3 separate regions of the Homo sapiens genome follow, and regions 1 and 3 are each linked to region 2. Evidence: promoter capture Hi-C in 16 types of primary human blood cells and fetal thymus (Javierre and others, 2016). All regions are on one chromosome and are shown on one strand. Each heading gives the region's core, a stretch centred on a gene start or on the middle of the fragment in contact. The rest is flanking DNA. Distances are from core to core; before and after follow the strand shown.

The links. The method cuts DNA at HindIII sites, captures the fragments that hold promoters and counts their contacts. A CHiCAGO score of 5 or more calls a contact.
Region 1: a contact is called between a fragment that was not itself captured here and the fragment with the promoter of CSE1L in region 2, in 1 of 17 cell types (naive B cells). The highest score is 8.1, in naive B cells.
Region 3: a fragment that was not itself captured here is called in contact with the fragment with the promoter of CSE1L in region 2 in 1 of 17 cell types (naive B cells); the score reaches 5.8 in naive B cells.

What each region holds. Positions count from the first base shown.
Region 1 is chr20:47,652,837-47,656,264 of GRCh38, forward strand. It overlaps NCOA3 (nuclear receptor coactivator 3), which reads left to right. Exons shown (of 23, transcript NM_181659.3): 22 at 95-236; 23 at 570-3,428. The coding sequence ends at 581. Among named protein-coding and RNA genes, the nearest start is that of SULF2, 130 kb to the right of the region's middle. The HindIII fragment of the contact is 7,144 bases long and covers 1-3,428 here.
Region 2 is chr20:49,044,645-49,047,923 of GRCh38, forward strand. It overlaps CSE1L (chromosome segregation 1 like), which reads left to right and starts at 1,668. Exons shown (of 25, transcript NM_001316.4): 1 at 1,668-1,779. CSE1L-DT (CSE1L divergent transcript) reads right to left here and starts at 1,412. Exons shown (of 2, transcript NR_110625.1): 1 at 1,216-1,412. RefSeq lists enhancers at 1,291-1,440, 1,991-2,060, 2,026-2,666. The HindIII fragment of the contact is 3,278 bases long and covers 1,059-3,279 here.
Region 3 is chr20:47,244,169-47,247,268 of GRCh38, forward strand. ZMYND8 (zinc finger MYND-type containing 8) reads right to left here. Exons shown (of 23, transcript NM_001281775.3): 14 at 1,840-2,349. Among named protein-coding and RNA genes, the nearest start is that of MIR3616, 79 kb to the left of the region's middle. The HindIII fragment of the contact is 4,630 bases long and covers 1-3,100 here.

The DNA of each region.
Region 1 (3,428 bases), core at 817-3,316, 1.4 Mb before region 2:
GCAATGTTTGACACAATTGTAGTAATTTCTGTGGGCATGCCCTTTGTCGCTAAAGTGACTTCCAGAGGTAATATTACCATTTGTTTACTTACAGCTCCTTTTCCCAGCAGCAGTTTGCCCACCAGGGGAATCCTGCAGTGTATAGTATGGTGCACATGAATGGCAGCAGTGGTCACATGGGACAGATGAACATGAACCCCATGCCCATGTCTGGCATGCCTATGGGTCCTGATCAGGTATGGGATCGATTCCTTACCTTTTTCAAAAAGTTTTTCTTGTTCTCTGGATAGAACTAAAGCCTAGGCTATAATCAGAATGTCCTAGGTATATTTTAACTTGAATGTATAACTTAAAATATAGTAATTGAAAAAACTTGGTTTGAAGGCATTGGGCCATTAGATACTTTTGGTAAGCCAGAGCTGCATTGTAAGATGGGATCTCAGGAACCTGAATCACTCAGCCAGAGCTGCACTGTAAGCCATGAATGTGGACATGGGTATTTTTTTGTTGTGCAAAGCATGTGTTTTACTCATTTTTTTTTTTTTTTTTTTTTTCCTGGTTGCTGACAGAAATACTGCTGACATCTCTGCACCAGGACCTCTTAAGGAAACCACTGTACAAATGACACTGCACTAGGATTATTGGGAAGGAATCATTGTTCCAGGCATCCATCTTGGAAGAAAGGACCAGCTTTGAGCTCCATCAAGGGTATTTTAAGTGATGTCATTTGAGCAGGACTGGATTTTAAGCCGAAGGGCAATATCTACGTGTTTTTCCCCCCTCCTTCTGCTGTGTATCATGGTGTTCAAAACAGAAATGTTTTTTGGCATTCCACCTCCTAGGGATATAATTCTGGAGACATGGAGTGTTACTGATCATAAAACTTTTGTGTCACTTTTTTCTGCCTTGCTAGCCAAAATCTCTTAAATACACGTAGGTGGGCCAGAGAACATTGGAAGAATCAAGAGAGATTAGAATATCTGGTTTCTCTAGTTGCAGTATTGGACAAAGAGCATAGTCCCAGCCTTCAGGTGTAGTAGTTCTGTGTTGACCCTTTGTCCAGTGGAATTGGTGATTCTGAATTGTCCTTTACTAATGGTGTTGAGTTGCTCTGTCCCTATTATTTGCCCTAGGCTTTCTCCTAATGAAGGTTTTCATTTGCCATTCATGTCCTGTAATACTTCACCTCCAGGAACTGTCATGGATGTCCAAATGGCTTTGCAGAAAGGAAATGAGATGACAGTATTTAATCGCAGCAGTAGCAAACTTTTCACATGCTAATGTGCAGCTGAGTGCACTTTATTTAAAAAGAATGGATAAATGCAATATTCTTGAGGTCTTGAGGGAATAGTGAAACACATTCCTGGTTTTTGCCTACACTTACGTGTTAGACAAGAACTATGATTTTTTTTTTTAAAGTACTGGTGTCACCCTTTGCCTATATGGTAGAGCAATAATGCTTTTTAAAAATAAACTTCTGAAAACCCAAGGCCAGGTACTGCATTCTGAATCAGAATCTCGCAGTGTTTCTGTGAATAGATTTTTTTGTAAATATGACCTTTAAGATATTGTATTATGTAAAATATGTATATACCTTTTTTTGTAGGTCACAACAACTCATTTTTACAGAGTTTGTGAAGCTAAATATTTAACATTGTTGATTTCAGTAAGCTGTGTGGTGAGGCTACCAGTGGAAGAGACATCCCTTGACTTTTGTGGCCTGGGGGAGGGGTAGTGCTCCACAGCTTTTCCTTCCCCACCCCCCAGCCTTAGATGCCTCGCTCTTTTCAATCTCTTAATCTAAATGCTTTTTAAAGAGATTATTTGTTTAGATGTAGGCATTTTAATTTTTTAAAAATTCCTCTACCAGAACTAAGCACTTTGTTAATTTGGGGGGAAAGAATAGATATGGGGAAATAAACTTAAAAAAAAATCAGGAATTTAAAAAAACGAGCAATTTGAAGAGAATCTTTTGGATTTTAAGCAGTCCGAAATAATAGCAATTCATGGGCTGTGTGTGTGTGTGTATGTGTGTGTGTGTGTGTGTATGTTTAATTATGTTACCTTTTCATCCCCTTTAGGAGCGTTTTCAGATTTTGGTTGCTAAGACCTGAATCCCATATTGAGATCTCGAGTAGAATCCTTGGTGTGGTTTCTGGTGTCTGCTCAGCTGTCCCCTCATTCTACTAATGTGATGCTTTCATTATGTCCCTGTGGATTAGAATAGTGTCAGTTATTTCTTAAGTAACTCAGTACCCAGAACAGCCAGTTTTACTGTGATTCAGAGCCACAGTCTAACTGAGCACCTTTTAAACCCCTCCCTCTTCTGCCCCCTACCACTTTTCTGCTGTTGCCTCTCTTTGACACCTGTTTTAGTCAGTTGGGAGGAAGGGAAAAATCAAGTTTAATTCCCTTTATCTGGGTTAATTCATTTGGTTCAAATAGTTGACGGAATTGGGTTTCTGAATGTCTGTGAATTTCAGAGGTCTCTGCTAGCCTTGGTATCATTTTCTAGCAATAACTGAGAGCCAGTTAATTTTAAGAATTTCACACATTTAGCCAATCTTTCTAGATGTCTCTGAAGGTAAGATCATTTAATATCTTTGATATGCTTACGAGTAAGTGAATCCTGATTATTTCCAGACCCACCACCAGAGTGGATCTTATTTTCAAAGCAGTATAGACAATTATGAGTTTGCCCTCTTTCCCCTACCAAGTTCAAAATATATCTAAGAAAGATTGTAAATCCGAAAACTTCCATTGTAGTGGCCTGTGCTTTTCAGATAGTATACTCTCCTGTTTGGAGACAGAGGAAGAACCAGGTCAGTCTGTCTCTTTTTCAGCTCAATTGTATCTGACCCTTCTTTAAGTTATGTGTGTGGGGAGAAATAGAATGGTGCTCTTATCTTTCTTGACTTTAAAAAAATTATTAAAAACAAAAAAAAAATAAATTTTTTTGCAATCCTTTCCTCAGACCTGGCTCCAGGCTAACTGGAAGGCAGCACTCCCTTTTTTATATAGTAGAAAAATGAAGTTTATTATAAGTTTTTATATTTTCTACTTGTTCATTTGGTGCAAACTCAAGATTTCTTTTAATAGGTGCAGTCTTTGAGATAATTTGTTTTTACCTGTATTGCCCTTTATCTTTTTTAGGTAATTCTTTGTACTCCTGCTGTCTACCTCTCCTCACACCCCAGCACCCCCCATTTTTTCAAACCTTGGTATCTGTTGGGTGAACAGTATAATCTTTTCATCTGCTTTTAGAATGTGGGATATTTCCAGTACCTACTTTTTTTTTTTTTTTTTGCTGAATCCAAAGATATATAAATAAAATATATATATTTTATAAAGATCAGAATGATATAAAGGAGATACATGTTTCTTCCTTTAAAAAATAAACGGAAGTTACATTGTTAATGTTCATATTA
Region 2 (3,279 bases), core at 418-2,917:
GGCGGAGGTGGGAGGATCACTTGAGGCCAGGAGTTTGCCTGGGCAACATAGTGAGAGCTCATCTCTACAAAAAAATTCAAAATTAGCCAGGTGTGGTGGCAGGTGCCTGTAGTCCTAGCTACTCAGGAGGCTGAGGTGGGAGGATTGCTTTAGCCTAGGAGGTCGAGGTTGCAATGAGCTATGATTGTGCCATTGCACTGCAGCCTGGGTGACAGAGCAAGACCCTGCCTCTTAAAAGAAAAAAAAAAAAAAAAAAAAAGCCCTGGCCAGGCGTGGTGGCTCATGCCTGTAATCCCAGCACTTTGGGAGGCCAAGGCTGGCGGATCACAAGGTCAGGAGTTCAAGATCAGCCTGGCCAATATGGTGAAACCCCGTGTCTACTAAAAATACAAAAATCAGCGGGGCATGGTGGCGGGCACCTGTAGTCCCAGTAACTTGGGGGGCTGAGTCAGGAAAATTGCTTGAACCTGGGAGGCAGAGGTTGCAGTGAGCTGTGACAGCACCACTGCACTCCAGCCCTCCAGCCTGGGCGACAGAGCAAGACTCTGTCTTTAAAAAAAAAAAAAAAAAAGAAAAGCCCTTGCTGTATAGAATCCCTTAGGTTATGGATGGGGAGGAGGGCAGGGGTTTAGGAGGGGAGAAGCGGAAGGAGGAACAAAATAAAGAAGAGACAATTAGTTGGAGAGTGATAAATACCATAATGATATCATGGAACTAGGCTTACCAGATCAAACACTGGGCACCCAGTTCAATGTGAATTTCAGATAAGCAATGCATGATTTTTAAGTATAAATATGTCCTACACAGTATTTATACTAGAAAATTATAAATTTTTTTCTAAAATTTACATTGACCTGGGCAGCCTGCATTTTATTTGCTAAACCTGGCAACCCTAATTTGTGTGCTGGGTGGTGGTGAGTGGGCAATTTCAGATAGGCCTCTTTTGTGGAGGTGACATTTGAGCTGGAACCTAAATGTAAAGAAGGAGCCAATCATTCAGGAATCTAGAACATCCCAGCACAGGGAACAGCAAGTATAAATGCTCTAAAGTGGAAATAAGCTTGGAGCTTAGAGGAACAGGAAGAAGGTGGGGTGGCGGAGCTGAGTGAGGGTGAGGAGAGGAGGGAAGCGGAAGGTGATGAGGGCAGGCAGGCTGGCAGGGGCCAGATCCCATATGGTTTGTGGGCTGTAATAAGAGTACCAAAACTTACATACCAGGCCAGGCGCGGTGGCTCACGCCTGGAATCCCAGCATTTTGGGAGGCCAAGGTGTGCGGATCACTTGAGGCCAGGAGTTCGAGACCTGTCTGGCCGTGTCTCCCTCTAAAATAGAAGCTCCAAGAGGGGCAGGAAGTTCTCTTCCGTCTTAGACCCTATGTGCACGACCTTGGATCGATCAACATTGAACACCTCCTACGTGCCAAGCCCTGACATCAAAATGGGTCAGAAGCCAGCAGCCGCTCGCTGAATCTGTGTTCCTCTTTGGAAAACGAGAACCGTGAAGCCTGCTGGCATGGTCAGAGCCAAAGAGCATTGTCACTTGTGAGATCAGCGCAGAAACAGAGCGGGGCCCCGATTGGCCCTTCGAACTTGGGTGGGGCCAGAGCATTCCTGGCCCCGCCCCCTGCAGCGGGCCGCTCGCTCATGCGCTCTGGCCTCAGGCTCGCTGTCGCGCCATTTTGCCGGGGTTTGAATGTGAGGCGGAGCGGCGGCAGGAGCGGGTAGTGCCAGCTACGGTCCGCGGCTGGGGTTCCCTCCTCCGTTTCTGTATCCCCACGAGGTGAGGCGCGGGGCGTGCACGGCCTACCAGAGTGGCTCTTGGGGCCCAGCTGAGGAAGGGATGAGGCGCTCCCGGTACTAACGAGCGCTAGGGAGTGAGAACCGCGCCTCTGGGCGAGAGCGGAATGTGGGCCCGGGGTTCGGGTGGTGCGCTCAGGCAAGGTCTTCGGCTTCCCTAGGGAGCGCTTGCCGCGCCTCGCGGCATCCTAGGTCTCTGGCCCAGGTGCGGCGACCCCAGGGCCTGTGAGGGCTGAGGGCAACTGAGGCGCGGCCTAACGCGAGCCTGCGGATTGCCCGCCCTTTCCTCTCCATCACGGCGCTGATTGGCTGCGCCGCCGCCTCTCCGCTCGGGAAGGCCGCTCCTTATTGGTCGCGCTCGCATGTCCATTCTCTGCGACGGTGGCTGCTAGCCGCGCGAGCTGAGTGTGCGGCGGCGAGGCCTGCCCGGGCGGGGACTGCGGGCGCGTGGAGCTGCGGCTGCCTCGCGTCGTCCCTTGCCCTAACTCTAGTGAAGCCCCCGAACTCACCCTTCTCTAACCTCTGTACTTGTATCCCTGACTGTAAAACGGGCATCGTGATCTCACTTTGCTGAATTGTTTGTGAGAATTCTAGTCGGTACACCCGGGACATAGAAATCCCCTGTAACGCGGGTTGGGGGAGGGTTCCCTCGTTTTGGGAGAAACGCTGTGCTGTGGTGGTTCGGAGCATAGACTTTGGAATTAGATCGCCTGGGTTCATTCCAGACGTAGCCTCTCGTTAGGGGTGTAACTTGAGGCTGGTCACCTCATCTCACTGAGCCTCCATTTCCTTAGCTGCAAAATGGGGTTAATAACAGAATCTACCTCGGAAAGTGGCTTTGAGGATGCGCTGAGTTATTTACCGTGGTTTACAAAGGTTCCCTGGGAGCTGACGGTTGTTTATTCATCTCTCCCACCCATCTTTCTCCTTAGCCAGTGTGGCTTTCTGTTTCTTCCATATTCCAGGGTTATTCCGATTTAAAATTATTTGCACATGCCTTTTGTTTGCTGGGGAAGTACCAACATTTTTGCAAGGCAGGCCGCCTCTCCCAAGTTTCCCTCACCTTAGGCCTCCCCTAACCAACCTCTTCTTTTGTTTTCTTTTTCTTTTTCTTTTCTCTTTTCTTTTTTTTTTTTTTTTTTTTTTTTTTTTGAGAGAGAGAGTCTCGCTCTGCCTCCCAGGCTGGAGTGCAGTGGCGCGATCTCGACTCACTGCAACCTCCGCCTCCCGGATTCAAGCGATTCTCCTGCCTCAGCCTCCCGAATAGCTGAGACTACAGGTCTGAGACTACACGCCACCACACCCGGCTAATTTTTGTATTTTTATTAGAGACGGGGTTTCACCATGTTGATCAGGCTGTCTAATCAACCTGTCTAGGACCTTTCTCCCATGGCTCTCCATCAACATCACCTGGTTTTAGTTACTTCATAGCATTTACTAACACTTACTTATTGCTTACTTGTTATCTTTCTCAACTGCTAGA
Region 3 (3,100 bases), core at 323-2,822, 1.8 Mb before region 2:
AATGGAAACCCCAAAGGACATGGAGTTACATCTTATTCAAGGGTTTCATTGACAAGTTAGCTCCTGATAGAAGTTAGGCACAGTCAAGATTTAAACCTGGCTATCCCTTAAGTCACTCGCCACATACATAAGGTTTTATGGCTACAACCTGTAATTTGTCCTGGGGCAATGTTTCTTCTGGGCCCTTAGTTAATTCTTCAGTATCTTTATTGAGCATGTTGAATCCTCTAACCTAATTGCCAAGCCAACTCAAAAATGTGCTGAATACTTTGTCAGTGGGAAGGACATCCTTCCAATCATTCCCACACCCCTTTTGTTGGGCTTGTTAACATGCCCAGGCTGCACTAGGCTGTGGGGTAGTCACTGCTGGTTCAGAATATAACCGTAGCCTCTGAGACTCAGGGGATATTTGGCAATATTTGATTGCCACATTTGTGACTGCCACAACTGAGCAAGTAAGGTTGCCATCTGGCTGGTAGAGGCCAGGGATGCTGGAAAACATCCTCCAATACACAGGACTAAGAATTAGCCAGGGCAAACTGTCAGAAGTGCAAGGTTGTGAAACTCTGAGCTAAGTTAAATGCAAATAAGATTAAAAGCCAGTAAGGCCAGACGCAGTAGCTCATGCCTGTAATCCCAGCACTTTAGGAGGCCGAGCTGGGTGGCTCACCTGAGGTCAGGAGTTTGAGACCAGCCTGGCCAACATGGTGAAACCCTGTTTCTACTAAAAATACAAAAATTAGCCAGGCGTGGTGGCAGGTGCCTGTAATCCCAGTTACTTGGGAGGCTGAGGGAGGAGAATCACTTGAACCCGGGAGGCGGAGGTTGCAGTCAGCCGAGATTGTACCATTGTACTCCAGCCTGGGCGACAAGAGCCAAATTCTGTCCGCCCCCCCTCCCCAAAAAAGCCAATACACATATCCACCATACTCCATTTTCTAGTGCCCTAAGAAGCACTCAGTATTCTGGCACCAATCACCCAAATACTGTCCTACTACTGTAAGAAAATACACTTGGAGATGCCTAGGTGGCATGAGGGGAGGAAAGCAAAGCTGAAATCATCAAAACCTTTGAAATGAACACTGCTTTTTTTTTAGAGAGGGAGTCTTGCTCTGCCACCCACACTGGAGTGCAGTGGCGCAATCTCAGCTCACTGCAACCTCCGCCTCCTGGGTTCAAGCGATTATCCTGCCTCCGCCTCACGAGTAGCTGGGATTACAGGCGCCTGCTACCACGCCCCGCTAATTTTTGTATTTTAGTAGAGACAGGGTTTCACTATGTAGGTCAAGCTGGTTTTGAACTCCTGACCTCAAATGATCCACCCGCCTCGGCCTCCCCAAGTGCTGGGATTACAGGCGTGAGCCACCATGCCCAGCTTGAAATGAACACTCCTAACCGTTTGAGACTTGTCAAAAGAGAATGAGATGTCTGTGGAATGCAGCACTGAAGGACCATTTGACAAGATCCAAATGTTAACAAACACTTTGGGGAAATAAATGAGCATATTGGAAAAGAAGCTGCTCAGACTAAAAATGACTTGGTCACTAAAAGTAACCATCATTTTCTAACAGACTTCTCTTTCTGTACTCAAAATCAATCATACTGGATACCGAGCAGGTTAAAGGTAGGCAGGCCCATGTTTGAGTCCAGGTCCTGTTCTATGACTAGCTAGGCAACCTTAAACCAAACACAGCTTCACTGTGCCTCTCTCTCAGTGTGTTAGAGGGTCACATAACTTCTGATTTGTTTCTTTAAGGGTCACATAACTTTTGATAGTAAGTGTACGAGGTAGGATTCTAAACCAAATTAAGAAAACTGGAAACAGATACAATCACTTACCATCCTGTTTGGGAGATGGTTCTTTGGGTTCCTTCTTATTTTTTCGACCCTCCCGCCCAGAATGGTCTTCTCCTAAATCTATGACAAGTTCGCTCTCTGAATCAGAGTCCAGGCCCAAATGGACTGTTGGGGAATCCGTCTCATCTTTTCCCTTCAGTTTATCCTTTATGGGGTGAGGTGAAGGTTTTGCCTTTTCGGAAAAGTCCTTCTCAGGCTCAGGGCTGGCCTTGTCCTTGACTGCTCCAGGGTCTGCCTTCTCGCTGGCTGGTGACGTGCTTTTCAGCTCCTCTTTAATCTCCACTGGGTTTGTAGGCTTGGGCTTTTTTTTAACAGCAGATGGCTCTTTGTCCATCTGACAACCTTCTTTGTCCTCTGTGTCTTCTGGCTCGTTCTTAGACTTCTGCTCATCATCACTGATATACTCACTATCGCTACTATCTGACTTCTCAGAATCCTCCGAATCGCTGTGCTCTACGGCCGTATAGACATCTTCCGAGATTTCATTTATGCCTAAATTCAAAAAGAAAACCCAGCATGTGGCGTAGTCACAAAATAAAGAGCAGGATGAAAAATGCAAACATTTTTCCACACCAAATGCTGGAATAAGAAAAGCACGTTTCAAATCGCATCACATTGGCCTAAATGGGGCCAGTAATAATCTCAAGTGGCAACTGGCTACGGCTGCCAAGTGGTACTTGCCTTGGGAGAGGGTTTTGGTTGTTAGGAGACACAGGACCTACCAACGGAGATTTTAAATTTATATGGCACTAAACATGTGGTGCCAAATTTTTGCAACGTTGATAACTAATTGGGATTATTGAGAATGAAGAGGGCTGGAAGGGAACAGCAGGGACAAGCTGTTCAAACTGATCCAATTTACAGATTAGAAAACAGAGGCCCAGGGATATCACCTGCCCTAGGACACAAGACAGAGGCCAGGCCAGAACCCCGGGTTCCTGGCTCCCCACCAACACTCTTCCCTTGGGTTTCCAAAGGGTTAAAGTTCTTGATCCTTTGTGTCTAGGCCAAAGAAAATAAGCCAAAGCCTTAAAGCAGAGGTTGCAAACAGCCCACAAGCCACATCTAGCTTGCAGACATGTTTCATGCGAGAGGCACTGGTTTGGCCCACAGGGTATCTTGTCTGCTTTTAATTTATAAATGTGTTGTCCAACTCACAAATCAGGAAATTTCATATAGAAATCAAAGCAGGGGCTTCTGATGAAAGAGCGGAAAATCTAGCCGCTCTGGGTCACCAGCCTGC